5 separate regions of the Homo sapiens genome follow, and regions 1, 3, 4 and 5 are each linked to region 2. The links are contacts of gene promoters, found by promoter capture Hi-C in human tissues and cell types (Jung and others, 2019). All regions are on one chromosome and are shown on one strand. The core of a region is centred on a gene start or on the middle of the fragment in contact, and the rest is flanking DNA. Distances in the headings are between cores, read along the strand shown.

The links. The method cuts DNA at HindIII sites, captures the fragments that hold promoters and counts their contacts. A contact is called where the count stands out against the background at its distance.
Region 1: a contact is called between a fragment that was not itself captured here and the fragment with the promoter of LRFN5 in region 2, in 1 of the 25 tissues and cell types used here (dorsolateral prefrontal cortex).
Region 3: a contact is called between a fragment that was not itself captured here and the fragment with the promoter of LRFN5 in region 2, in 1 of the 25 tissues and cell types used here (dorsolateral prefrontal cortex).
Region 4: a fragment that was not itself captured here is called in contact with the fragment with the promoter of LRFN5 in region 2 in 1 of the 25 tissues and cell types used here (dorsolateral prefrontal cortex).
Region 5: a contact is called between a fragment that was not itself captured here and the fragment with the promoter of LRFN5 in region 2, in 1 of the 25 tissues and cell types used here (dorsolateral prefrontal cortex).

The regions. Positions count from the first base shown.
Region 1 is chr14:39,950,687-39,953,590 of GRCh38, reverse strand. No RefSeq gene overlaps it. Among named protein-coding and RNA genes, the nearest start is that of FBXO33, 520 kb to the right of the region's middle. The HindIII fragment of the contact is 4,701 bases long and covers 1-2,904 here.
Region 2 is chr14:41,605,526-41,608,517 of GRCh38, reverse strand. LRFN5 (leucine rich repeat and fibronectin type III domain containing 5) reads right to left here and starts at 1,642. Exons shown (of 6, transcript NM_152447.5): 1 at 1-1,642. The HindIII fragment of the contact is 3,229 bases long and covers 261-2,992 here.
Region 3 is chr14:39,968,286-39,971,352 of GRCh38, reverse strand. No RefSeq gene overlaps it. Among named protein-coding and RNA genes, the nearest start is that of FBXO33, 540 kb to the right of the region's middle. The HindIII fragment of the contact is 5,096 bases long and covers 1-3,067 here.
Region 4 is chr14:43,149,267-43,152,058 of GRCh38, reverse strand. No RefSeq gene overlaps it. Among named protein-coding and RNA genes, the nearest start is that of LINC02307, 1.2 Mb to the left of the region's middle. The HindIII fragment of the contact is 3,324 bases long and covers 1-2,792 here.
Region 5 is chr14:39,756,241-39,758,980 of GRCh38, reverse strand. The region is part of intron 5 of LOC105370461 (a long non-coding RNA gene); the gene reads right to left. Among named protein-coding and RNA genes, the nearest start is that of FBXO33, 330 kb to the right of the region's middle. The HindIII fragment of the contact is 4,081 bases long and covers 1-2,740 here.

The sequences.
Region 1 (2,904 bases), core at 330-2,829, 1.7 Mb after region 2:
TTCCCACCAACAGTGTAAAAATGTTCCTATTTCTCTGCAATCTCACCAGCATCTGTTGTTTCTTGACTTTTTCACAATCACCATTCTGACTGTCATGAGATGGTATCTCATTGTGGTTTTGATTTGCATTTCTCTAATCATCAATGATGCTGAGCTTCTTTTCATGTTTGTTGGCTACATGAATGTCTTTTTTTGAGAAGTGTCTGTTCATGTCTATTGCCCACTTTTTAATGGGGTTGTTTTTTCTTGGAAATTTGTTTAAGTTCCTTGTAGATTCTGGATATTAGACCTTTGTCAGATGAATAGCTTGCAAAAATTTTCTTCCACTCTGTAGGTTGCCTCTTTGCTCTGATGACCATTTCTTTTGCTGTGCAGAAGCTCTTTAATTAGATCCTATTTGTCAATTTTTGCTTTTGTTGCAATTGCTTTTGGCATTTTGTCATGGAATCTTTGTCCATGCCTATGTCTTTAATGGTATTGCCTAGATTTTCTTTTAGCGTTTTTATAGTTTTGGGCTTTACATTTAAGTCTTTAATCCATCATGTTAATTTTTGTAAAAGGTGAAAGGAAGGGATTCAGTTTCAATTTTTTACGTATAGCTAGCCAGTTTTCCCAGCACCATTTATTAAAAAGGGAATCCTGTCCCCATTGCTTGTTTTTGTCAGGTTTGTTGAAGATCAGATGGTTGTAGATGTGTAGTCTTCTTTCTGAGTTATCTCTGTTGGTCTATGTGTCTGTTATTGTACCAGTACCATGCTGTTTTGGTTATTGTAGCCTTGTAGTATAGTTTGAAGTCTGATAACAGCTTTGTTCTTTTTACTTGGGATTGTCTTGACTATACAGGGTCTTCTTTGATTGCATATGAAATATAGTTTTTTTTCTAATTCCGTGAAGAGTGTCAATGGTAGTTTGATGGGAACAGCATTGAATCTGTATATTACTTTAGGCAGTATGGCCATTTTCACAATATTGATTCTTCCTGTCTATGAGCACGGAATGTTTTTCCATTTGTTTGTGTCCTCTCTGATTTCCTTGAGCAGTGGTTTGTAGCTCTCCTTGAAGAGGTCCTTTACTTCCCTTGTTGGCTGTATTCCTAGGTATTTTATTCTTTTTGTAGCAATTGTGAATGGGAGTTCATTCATGATTTGGCTCTCTGCTTGTCTCTTGTTGGTGTATTGGAATGCTTGTGAAATCTGCACATTGATTTTGTATCCTGAGACTTTGCTGAAGTTGCTTATCAGCTTAAAAAGCTTTGGGGCTGAGACAATGGGGTTTTCTAGATATAAGATCATGCCATCTGCAAATGAAGACAATTTAACTTCTTCTTTTCCCATTTGAATATCCTTCGTTTCTTCCTCTTGCCTGATTGCCCTGGCCAGAATTTCCAATACTATGTTGAATAGGAGTGGTGAGAGAGGGCATCCTTGTCTTGTATCAGTTTGCAAGGGGAATGCTTCCAGCTTTTGCCCATTTTATATGATATTGGCTGTCTACTCCCTCACTCTTGATGTCAAGGGAGGAATGGAGAACTGAAAAACTCCTTAACAGTTTTTCTAAAATTTTCTTTTTCAAAAAACCTTAAACTCTTAGGGGAATTTAGATGTTTTAAGCAGTTGGGATACAGATATATCTGAAATACAGAAATATATTTTGTACAAAACACACACACACACACACACATACACACACACACACACACACACAGAGAGAGAGACAGACGCATTCCTAGTTCTATCTAACTTGATGGAGAAACATTCCCCTAGCTCATACTAGAAAAAGGAGTGGGAGAGGAGAGAACAGAAGAGTGTGGATAAACAAAACGAACTTTTGCTAAGACCACTCCTGAGGGTCACGTCAAGCCCAGATCCTAAAGAAGGAATGGTTGTATTATTCACAGTCAGATGGAACCACTAATATAGTGTCCTATGTTCAAGGAGCTGCATAGAAGTTGCAAAGATAATAAATAGAAACAAATGGTCAAAGCAAGCAAAGTAATGTTAACCTGGTTACATAAGGGAATAAACTATAGGCCAAGTAGGACAACAGGTGGCATTTCAACAACTGAGATTGCATTTATGTTTTTTCACAGGCCAACTGTGGTAGTTTTTAGGGTTGCTTCATAAAAAGGAAGGTATCTTTATCTCACCTTAGGCCAACAAATGCTTATCTAAGTATTCACTGGAAAAGCATTCTCTAAATTATAACTCAATCAAATCAAACCACCTATATTCATTTGTATTCTTCACAGAATCAGATCAGGTGACTCACTAATAAACTAGCACCTCCTCTTCCATGAGGCAAGCATTCCCTCCTATAATATTCTTAACAAATTTTCATCCATTCTCTCCCAAAACAGCGTCAGTGACGGGGAGCTCACTGCCCTATTTGGCTGCAAACATCATGATTCTTCCTCATATTGTAACAAAAATTACCTTTCCATAACTTTCCAGTCCAGGGGGCACTAAAGAAAGCAGAGTGCGGACCTGAATCCACAGCATATTGCACAGAGAAGGCACTCGGTAATTATTTATTAAACAAGGGAACAAATAAGCAGTAATTGACCTCATTTTAGCCTCTAGAGCCCACAGAACACTTATTCTTCTATGTAATAATCCTTTAAGTAATGGAAAAGAAAGCCATAAATGTTCACCCTCTCCTTCAAATCTGGTTAGACCTTATTGGGGAATGAATCCCAACACTTCAGAATTAAATTTTCTTAGGCACTTCTCCTTCCTCTAAGCTTCTATGTTAAAGAGCTATAAAGACACATGCATATGTATGTTTATGGCAGCACTATTCACAATAGCAAAGACTTGGAACCAACCCAAATGTCCAACAATGATAGACTGGATTAAGAAAATGTGGCACATATACACCATGGAATACTATGCAGCCATAAAAAAT
Region 2 (2,992 bases), core at 393-2,892:
TGCAGGTACAATCCCGGCAAGGTGGCTCCAGGTGGCTTTCACAGTCGTACGCGGGTCTCGCTCGTCACTTCGCTGCCCTTTGCCATAGCTCAGCACCCGCATCGTAGGGAATCGGAAAGGCGGCTCCTGCCACTGCCGCCGCTGCCCGCAGGTCGCTCTGGGTGGGGGAATCGCTGCAATCGCCCCATGAAACCCGCGGCTCCGCGCCCGGGGAGCGGGCAGAGGCAGGGCGGCCGCGCACGCACACACAGACACACGCTCACACTCACACACACTCGCACCCGGGCGCGCGCGCACTTGCACTCACACTCGCACACGCACACCCAGCACTGCACGGGGAGGAAGCAGCACGGAGGGAACCGGTCCTTCTCACGATTGGCTTCGAAGCCCACCGGACCGCGGGCAGCAAAGAGAGCGTTCTCGCATAGCCCTTTAATCACGTTTCCTTCAAGTTCTCCTCCAACCCGAATCCACGTAATTCAAGAGCTGGTGACATTTTGGTGGGGAGGAGGGAGCCGAGAAAGGGCTGAGGAAGAGTCGGGGATTTTGTTAAGCAGTTTAATAAGCAATCCTCATTACCTTATTTGTTTTGTTTTGTTTTGTATAGCAAACCAGTTCGAAGGGCTGAACTTTTGGCTTCAAATGCTGTGAACCAAAACGTAAATATCCTTCTGGCCAAGAGAAGAAGGTGTAGATACACGGAAACAAGAGGGCTGCAAGACACTCTCTTGACCTTGTGATGTACCTGGAAGCAGGTTAATATTGGCGCTTTCCAAGCTTCTGGGTAAAGCGATCCACACACCTGGGTCCACAGCCCAGCAGCCGCTCCAAATCCAGCCAGGAAAATGGGTCTGGGCGTCCTCAGAGCTCTGCAAGAACCCGGGCATGAAGGGGCATCGCCGAGTTAACACATTTGCTTCTGGGCAGTTGGATAAAAGACAGTCAAATGCATCAGATAGGCGCGCGCGTACACACGCGCGCGCACACACACACGCAGCTAGCTGGAAAGCGGCTTACAAAACACTAGAGACATGCCAAGATGACTTGAAAAGGTAGCCAACATCCAGGATCTTTCCGGAACACAGAAGGGCCAGCAGGGAGGTTATCAAAGTCTTCTCAAGTCTTTCAATTCTTCCTCTCTCCTCTGAGTGTGTGTGTGTCTGTCTAGGTTTCGTTGGTCTGCCCCACCCCCGTCCAGTTGCGCTTTTTTTTTCTGATATAACGGACCGTGCAAAATGGATTATATGGGTGGGCTGTGTTCACAGCCAGAGCTCCCCAAAGTCAAGGATCCTAAGGGAGCAGCCAGCTGCTAAACAATTCACATCCTCAAGGGAAGAAGGAAAAACACGCTCAAACACACGCAAACACGCGCACACACATACATAGTCCTCCGTTCGGGCAGCTCTGCACACGCTCACCGCCTCCCTGCGCGCCGCGGAACACAGCGCCCCGCCCGCTGGCCACCGCGCTGGGGCGAGTCCGCAGTTCAGGCGCGAGGCAAGCAGCCGAGGTCCGGGGCTGCGGCCGCGGCCGGGGCGGACCCGGGAGCTGGGCTTCCCAAAGCGTCGCGTGTGGGCAACGGCGGCCTCCTGGCCGCGTGGAACTGAGCCCTGCGCTGCAGCATGAAGGCGGCGGCGGCGGCGGCGGCGGGCGCGCGGCCGTGAGCTCAGCCCGCGCTGCAGTGACGGGAGCGGCCGTGTCGGCCAGACCCCGAGAGTCCGTGAGACCCCGGCCGGGGCCGCTCCGCTGCTGTCAGCCCTCGGGCCTCCCAGCCAGACTGGTTCTGAACCGATTTATCAGGGGGTTGCGGAGAGGGCCGGCGAAGCGCCAGGAAATCCCCAGGCTGAGGAGGCGCGGGGGCGTTGCAGGAAGGGGGAAGGGAAAAGGCAGAAAACCTGGAGAATGAAAGCGAACTTCCAGGGGCGTCCCCAGCCTCCTGCAAAAGGGCAATTTGCTGATCGCCCACTTCCTCGCAGTTACGGGATAGAGAGAATCATCACTGAGTCAAGCTTCGGCTGCTTAGGGCGGTGGGAAAAGTCATTATCTATAATAACCCGCCGGAAATTTTGAGGAGAGCTACTGACTTGGGGGTTTCAGTCATCTGAGGCTGGCTTCCGCTGTCCCCTTAGTTGTGGGTGGTGATTTGCTTACTAATCAGATGGGAGCGGATTCTGAAAAGAACATTTATATTTGGGAATCAACTCAGCTCAGCATCAGACATTACGAATACTGCAGTTGGTCACATTTTACTATGTGAAGGGCAGAAAGGGAGCCCAACAGTCTTCATAAGCCAGACCTAGTCTCTAAGGTCACCGGCACAGACGCAGGGTCTAAAGCAGGAAAGAGGTGCGACTGGAAAGGAGGTTAGACAGGGCCCTGCGGGAATGGATCTGCCCGGAGCCCTCGCCTGGTTTTGCTTGAGACTCCGACAAGACTCCCAATGCTTCTCTCCCCGACCCTATCCCCACTCCCTCCATCCTGGAAAAGCCAGTGAGCAAAGTTAACTCTTTCTTCTAAGAAACCCTGAGTGAAATCTTGCTCTTCCTTTCTGCTAGAGTCCTGAAACCCTTTCGCTTCTCATTGTGGGTTCACCAGCACGTGGTCTTCGGACACTGAGAGCACCTTCGCTCTCAGCTGTGATCCTAGCTAGCCCAGACACCAGTCTGTACCCAAAGGAAGAGTAGGAAGTTGCAAAGGGAAGCTGGCTAACAAGGGCTTCTTCTGCCCTACTTGGCAAAGGCCCATACGGGTGGCCTCCGTGGATATGGAGCTCCTTCATTTTGTTCCAAAAAGAGCTCTGCCAGGCTTTACCATTGCCCTGGAGGTGCACAGGCGCCCGTATACTCGAGCACAACCATGGGCTCACCCCAAGCGCGCACACCTGCACCCACGCGTAAGGAAGAACCACACAGCTATCTCTGTCGGGGAAGAACACGAGGAGTGAAGTGCTTTAGGTGGAAACTCCTCACATCTCCTTTCTTTCCTCTGCTCC
Region 3 (3,067 bases), core at 389-2,888, 1.6 Mb after region 2:
CAGATGCTGGCATTCCTTGACCTCCTTGGCTTATGGCCACATGAAACCAATCTCTGCCCCTGTCTCCACACTGCCTTCTCCTGCATGTGTATCTTTCTCTCTTCTCTCTCTTGTAAAGACCCTTGGCATTGAATTTAAGGCCCACCTGGGTAATCCAGGATAATGTCTCAAGGTTATTTAATTATATCTGCAAAAACCTTTTTTCCAAATAAGGTAGTTTTCATTGGTTTCAGAGATTTACATGTGTACATATGTTTTTGAGAGCCAGAATTCAAACCACTATAGTCCACCCTATTGCCCTCAAATATTTATATTTTTCCAATGTGCAAAACACATTCAGGCCATCCCAACATCCTCTGAAATATCAGCCTATCACAGCCGTCAACTGTAAGTATAAAATCCTATCTGAATGTCATGAGCTCAAAAGTCCCAAATCTCTTCATCTAAATCAGGTATGGGTAAAACTGTTAGCAGCAGTGAATCCATATGGGTCTGCAGCAACCTCAATCCTTGCCTCCTCAGAAGAAACAATTTGACCAAGGGGCATAAGGCAGAGTGAAAGACCAAGGCAGAGTGAAAGACCGAGGCATATTTTAGAGCAGGAGTGAAAGTTTATTAAAAAGCTTTAGAGCAGGAATGACAAAAAATAAATAGTATGCTTGGAAGATGGCCAAGCAGGCAACTTGAGAGATTAAGTGCACAGTTTGATCTTTGAGTTGGAGTTTATATGCCAGCATGCTTCCCGGGGGTTGTGTCCCTTCTCTACTGACTCTTTCCTTGGGGTGGGCTGTCCACATTTGCAGTGTCCTGCCAGCACTTGGGAGGGGTCATATGTACAGTGTGTTTACTGGAGTTGTACACATGCTCATTTGTGGTGTTCTTCCCTCACCAAATGTTCCTAGAAGGTCATCTACCACTTAAACTCCACTGTTTTGCCATTTAGTGCACATGTTTGAGCCCAGGCCCAACTCCTGAGACCTTATTGGGAAGCTGCTAATCACCAGTTTCAGGTGTTTCTATTTATTGGAAGACTTCCTTTCCCTTGTACTGGCTATGACCAATTATTATTTTAGAGAGACAGTTAACAACCATCTGACCATCACCTGATGGTTGCCTAACATTCCTGGGTTGGTAAAGGAAGCCTCCCCTGACCTGCTAATGTCTGACTAGCTACCTACTGTAACAAAACTAGGTATGAATAATCCTGGAGCCAAATTCCTCTCCACCTGTGGAGCTGTGAAACTATAAAACAAGTTATCTGCTTTTAAGATAAAATGGTGAGAATGGAATAGGGTAACAGTTATAGATATTCCCATTTCAAAGAGGAGAAATTGGAATAAAGAAGTCACCCATCCCTAGAAAGTCTAACGTGCAGCAAAAGAAATATTAGGTTTCAAGGCCCAAGAATAATCCTCTGTGACTCTAGGCTCCACTCATTGGGCCTGCTGCTCTGGCCTAGTAGGCATCTGGGCCTGTGGCTCTGGGATCATATGTCTCTGGGATCATAGCTCTGGCATTGGAATCATTATTCTTGAAAGGTAGCACATGTTTCTAGGTAAGTAGTTCTTGCAGCCCATTTCCTGCCTTTAGACTCCCAGAAGTCCAATAGCCTTCTTTCATTTTATCCTCTGTCTCTTTCAGTCCAGCCTGGTAGTGTGTCTGCAGACATAAAATCTTCACAAACCTTGTGGATTTCCTAAGTATGTCAACTGGTCTTGTGTCATTAGGGAAGAAGGTCCTCCACAGATTTCCCTGGATAACCTCCTCTCTATTCCTGGCTTCTTCTGACAAGGTTGAGTGTATGTATGATTCCATAAGACATACATCTAATCTCAGCAAAAGGTGGTCCAGCCATACCCTTGGCTTCTCTCCAGAGCATGCTTTCCTAATAGTAGCATCTTTTGCAATCTGTATATATTGCAAATTTCCCAAATCACAAGTGCTGCTTTTTTTGCCTCAATGGTTCCTTCCTCAATTTATCTTTTTCATTTTATTGTAATCAAAATGAAGAAACAAAGCCACACCATTAATACTTAGCTTGGAAATTTCCTTGGCTAAATATCAAAGGCTATCACCTACAAGTTCTGTTTTCCATACAACTATAGGACACAATTTGGCCAAAGTTTTTTCTACTAATTTAACAAGGATTACCTTTCCTCCAGTTTATAATAACATGCTCCTTGTTTCCTTCTGAGCTCTTATCAGAAACATTTTTGCTCATGTCACTATATGTATTATCGAAGATGAGAGAAGCTTTCTCTAGCATGTTCCTCACTTCCTTCTGAGCACTCACCATAATTTGGCTTTTTCTATCTTGGCCTCAAAATTCTTCCAGCCTCTACCTATTATCCATTTCTAAAACCACTTCCATGTTTTTAGGCATTTGTTACAGCAGCACTCCACTTCCCCCTACCAAAATCTATACTAGTTTCCTACAGCTGCCACAACAAATTATCACAGATTAGATGTCTTAAAACAACAGAATTTTATTCTCTTACAATTCTGTCAGCCAAAAGTCCAAAATCAAGATATAGGTAAAAGTAGACTCCTTCTGGAAGCTCTAAGGGAGAATCCCTCTTTGCCTCTTTCCAACTTCTGGTGGCTTTCTGCAATCCTTGGCTTCCTTGTCTTGTGGCTATATCACTGTCATGTCTGCATCCATCTTTCCATTGCCTTCTCCTTCTCTCTTGTGTGCCTATTATGAGTATACTTATAGTTATGTACTTATAAGAATATCAATTGGAGTATGCTTGTAAAAACCACAACCCTAAGGGTCAGATTTCAGAAAAAAATAGAGGGCAGGTGGGGAATTTGTGAATGAAAGAGAAATAAGAACAGCAAACACCTAGCTAAGATCAGCCAGTGATCAGCTGCCTAGACATTTGAGCCTCAGGAAGAAGCACTTGTGCTTTATTCTAACATATCATTTGGTCACCACTGCTCCTATAGACCACAGCAACATTCAGTTATGTACTTTGGCCAGTATGTATGTCCCACAGGTAGACCTCAGGAAAGGGTGAGGAGGAGAAGAAGATTACAAAGAGGAAATGAGACTGAACTTAGGAAA
Region 4 (2,792 bases), core at 213-2,712, 1.5 Mb before region 2:
AAAACAAAAAATAATACGAATCATAAAGACTAAAAGACAAACTGTTTATGTCTATCACTTAATTTTTAGAGCTATTTTCTTTACGACAATAGCAGTAAGGATAATTAGTATACCATAACTTCTATAATATACTATTTAAAACCGAATGGGATCTATTTTTTAATGTTTGGAGAAATTCAGATAACAAAATGTCATATAATATGGTTAATGATTTTTTATATTAATGCTGCCTTAAAAGACATTACAAAGCAGTCAGAGTCCATAAACAACAGATATTTGCAGGGAAATGGAAAAGAGTGCTTTTGTGGTTTAAAGCATTCTAATTTAAATTCATTATCTGTGATAACAAATACTATTTAAAATACATTCTATATACCTCAATTCCCAGAGTTCATAACTTTATTTTGTACAATGTTCAATTTACTGAGAAATGAGGAATGTCATTTGGACTATACAATTCTGAGTGAAATACTTGAGGCAGACAAAACTAAGTGATCAGAATCAAATTTCAGTCTTCGCTCATTTAGAGGACAATTGATGTATACCTACTGCTATAGTCTGAATATATTTCCCAATCTCATGTGCTGGAAACTTAATCACCAATGCAACATTGTTCAGAGGTGGAGTCTATTATAAGGATGGCTCTGCCCTCATGACTGGATTAATGCTGGAATAAAAGGGCTTGCTGGAGTGGGTTCTTTCTCTTCTCTTCCACCTTGTGAGGACACAGTGTTGATCCTCTCTGGAAGATACATCAACAAGGAGCCATCTGACAACCAGAGAAAAGGGTGGTCTATTAATCTTGGACTACCAGCCTCCAGGACTGTGAGAAATAAAAACGTATTTATTTATAAAGTACTTAGTCTCAGGTATTGTGTTATAGCAGCATAAAACAGGGTAAGACACAAACCTATTAGTTTTCTTTCTGTAAATGAATAATTAATATCAATGCCAAGTTATAAAGCTTGGATATCATGACCTATTCTTACTTTACTGAGCTCATGATTAAATATTAGATGACTGAAATACAGGACATGTCCTCAAAAAGCATATATCAAATTTCAGGAAATATTTTTACCAACCCATCTACACTTATAATATAGAAAAAAAGTAGAGCATATGAAGCATTTTTTGATAATAGTCCTTAAGCTTGAAATGCAGTGTCCTATGACTTACACGCATAAGGTAATGGTGAGATTGAACAGGATGTTCACTCAAACTCTATGAACTTGGAACCAAGGATGGGTAATATATTGCAGATTCCTCATAGCATAGTTAGACTAAGCCACAGAATTTTTTTTTAATACATATGATTCAGTAGCTTAATTTAGTTGGAAGTTTAATTTTTCAGGTTAATTTCTCATGTAAGCATAGGTTGGGGAACAAAATGTCAGCAACAATGAAAGGGCCCCTAAATTTCCTAACATTTCCCCAAGACATAAAAAGATATTTAATTTTTCTCCAAAATTCTCTTAAGATCATTATGAGGATGGTTTATAAATAAAGTTTACTGATAGCTGTGGTGTTAAAATAAAAATTGTGAATTATATGTTGTGTGTGTGTGTCTAGAATCTAATATGGCATAGCATATATTGTCGTGTATCAACTGCTCGAATTTTGACTAACAGATGCTTTCAAATACAATCTGTTATTTAGTGTTTTTACCTTTTCTAATTATTTTTTCTCTTTATACGGTAGCATTTCTATTTCATTAGTCTGTTTTGTTTAACTTCCTTTATATTGTGATACAAATGTACCCCCAAATTATCATACAAAAGAATCTGAATAAAGGATCAATTAATAGAGAAGGAGTCGATGATGTGTTTGCTAAGCTGCCTTGAGCCATGAATTTATTATAATCATTTTCTATATAATTTTTCTAATAGTAATAATAATCAGTGACAGATTTTTAACATAGAAACTAGAGCTTTGAAGTAAAGAATAACAAAAAAATTATTCCTTTATTAAGCATCAAATAATATTAATATTTTTTGTTTTCACTAGTGTAATGCACACATTGTACATACAGACAAACATACTTGCACACACACACACACACAAACACAAATACACACTCATCTTCCTTCCCATGTAGTTCAGGCAAATGATCAGGGGGGAAGACCATGAACTTCATAGATCTTGGGGTTCTCCAGAGAAACAGAACCAACAGGACAGATAGGTAGGTAGGTAAATACATACATACATACATAATTGTATAGATACATATATTGACTGCTACATAGATGCATAAATATACCTATATGTCTATCTACATACAGATATTTATCTAAATGATTTTAAGGAAGAGCCCATGGGGTCTGACAAATATGAAATCTGTAGGACAGGCTAATAGAATGGAGATCTGGCCAAGTTGACACATAAAATTATCAATATGTATAAATAAATTATTGCTGTTGGTAACATCTTTGCTTACTTTGTCGATATTTGCATGTACAAAGATTTTCTATGAGTAATGAATATCAGCAGCTACTCTGGATGATTGTTGTCTGTCTCCTTAGGTCCTCCCCAGGACTACCAAAAGAGAAGTTGATATACTTCAAATGATGTATATTTTAAGTCAGATCCTGTCAAACATAAATCACAAAATTTGATGAAATGTATCTAGTTGCATTCAGGTATTTTTAACAAAGATAGCTGATACTTTTATATAAATAAATATGTATTAATTATATGAATATTGTCATGTGGAAAGAGAGGTGATGCCTCCTCCATCAAAGGACACTTGAGCAAAACTCTTTCTCCAGTGTGACTAAGCGTAGTTCATCAAACTC
Region 5 (2,740 bases), core at 205-2,704, 1.8 Mb after region 2:
TGTGTTCCTTGGAAGCCCAGATCTAAGAATCTTTCTTTAAGGAAAGTTGTATTTTGATGTATCTGCTCTTTTTAGCATACTTTTTATTTTAGTATGGTCATGCATCCCTTAAATGATGAGGATACCTTCTGAGAAATGAGTCCTTAGGCAATGTTGTTGTTGTGCAAGTATCACAGAATGTATACCCCTAGATGGTATACACCTACTGCACCCCTAGGATATATGGTATAGACTATTGTTTCTAGGCTACAAGGCTATACAGCACGTTACTGTACTGAATAACACAGGCAACTGCCACGCAATGGTAAGTATTTGCGTATTTAAACATAAAAAGGTATTGTAAAAATATAGTATCATAATCTTATGTGACTACCGTATATGCAATCTGTCATTGATCAAAATGTCATATGTGGCACATAAGTTTATATCAAATGTTTAGGAAAATGCACAAATCATAAGTACATTACTCAATAAATTTCACAAATTGAAACCAACACACAGATGAAGAAAGATTACTAGCATCCCAGGATCTCCTATGAGTCCCCTTCCAGAGTAACCACTGCATTGATATCTAATACCAGAGATTAGTTTTGCCTGTTTATAAACTTTATGTAAACAAATCATCCATGCACTCTTTTTCATCTGTTATAACTCAAAATTATATTAGTGAGATTTATCCATGTTATGCATAGTTGAAGTTCATTCTCACTGATGTATGTTATTCCATTGTGTGAATTCATCACACTGTATCTATTCTACTGCTGATAAACATTTGGGTTGTCTTCATTTCAGGGAGACTCCATTATTCCTCAAAAATAATGCTGCCATGAACATTCTAGTACATGTCTTTTGGTGAACACATATATGCATTTTTGCTGTGTATGTAATCTAAGCATCCTATGATCCATGTTGTCATAAGAGAAGCATATATGCAGCTTTAGTCATTATTGCCAACCAGCTTTCCCAAGTGGTTATACTCATTTACACTGTCACCAACAGTTGATAAGAGTTGCCATTGGTACACATCCTTTACAACACTTGGAATTTTCTTTTATTTTAGGTCATTAGTTTATAATCACACTGTAGTTTTAATTTTCATTTGTCTTATAACTAATGAGTTTGAGTACTTTTTGTATCTTTTTTTTTTTTTTGAGACGGAGTCTCACTCACTCTATTACCCAGGCCAGAGTGCAGTGGTGCAATCTTGCCTCAACACAACCTCGGCCTCCAGGGTTCGAGTGATTCTCCTGCCTCAGTCTCCCGAGTAGCTGGGATTACAGGCACGCTCTACCACGCCCAGCTAATTTTTGTGTTTTAGTAGAGACGGGGTTTCACCATGTCAGCCAGGCTGGTCTCAAACTCCTGGCCTCAAGTGATCCTCCCACCTTGGCCTCCCAAACTGCTGAGATGACAGGCATGAGCCACTGTACTTGGCCAACTTTTTTATATCTCTTTTGGCTATTTGAATATCCTCTTTTGTGACATGACTGTTCAAATCTTTTGTCTATTTTTTCTATTGGATTGCGTCTCTTTAATACTTACTTGTAGCAGTTTTGTTGTATATTTTAAGAATAAGTCTTTTTTCATATATAGTACAAATATTTTTTTCCTAATCTGTGGCTTGGCTCTTTATTTTCTTAATGGTGTCTTTTGATGAAGAGAAATTCTTAATTTAAATGTGGGCCAATTTACCATTCTTTTTACTTTATGTGTTAATATAAGTTTGTTCTCCATGTCATAAAGATATTCTAATATATTTTCTTCTAAAGCCATGTTGTTTTACCTGTTATATTTAGATACATGGTAAGGATTGTTTTTTTTTTCTCCAATGGTATCCAATCGATCCCAGTACCTTTTATCAAAAAGAGCATACATTATCCACTGCAGTTCAGTGTCCTCTCGGTCAAATTACAATAAGGGTCTGTTACTGGACTCTCTATTCTATTCCATTGGCCTATTTTTATGCCAAGAAGATACTGCCATAATTACTAGTTCTATAAGGTCCTAAAAGGAGTGATGAGTATGTGTCTGTGTTGAGAGAGAGAGAGACATCATTAGGATAAATAGAAAACAAAGTTAAATAATTTTTTGTTGTTTTTGGTTTTCATTTACTATCTGAATTATCAGAAACCTTATTTTATACGTTAAAGTGTATTATAATTATCTAAGAGATAGATATATGCTATTTCCCAAAATTAAATTTAACTATGGAACATTTTTTTCCACGGAGTGTCTTATAGGACTAGTGTTCTAAGTAATGCACTTTGGGAAATAAATACATGTATGTTTTTAGGTAGTAAAAGCTGAGCCTCAGGCTAGATCCAAGTTGTTGATAGCTCTCAGCATGAGACTGCATTTCTAATTTTCTTCACAACCTGTATGAGGTCAATTACATTAAGCTCTCAACATCCAGGTGCTTAAAGGCAGACAGATCATCTATTTGTTGGAATGCAATTACAAAATTTAAAATCCTCTTTTATATCTTTCTTAGCACTCCTAGATCTTAAACATTTTTGGTGCCTCATCCTTGATTCAGAATGAGAAGATCTGACAGAATTAGTTATTTAAAGACAAGTTTTAGCCACTTGACCTTCTGAGATGTCCATAGTTATTCACTCAGTTCAGGTAAAGTAAGCACAGAAGAACCCATTACAGTCACCTGGATTCTCACAAGTTGTAAGCTTTGAAGCTCTACTTCTTATTATTAAAGATGGCAAAGAGTTCCAGAGATGAAAAGAGT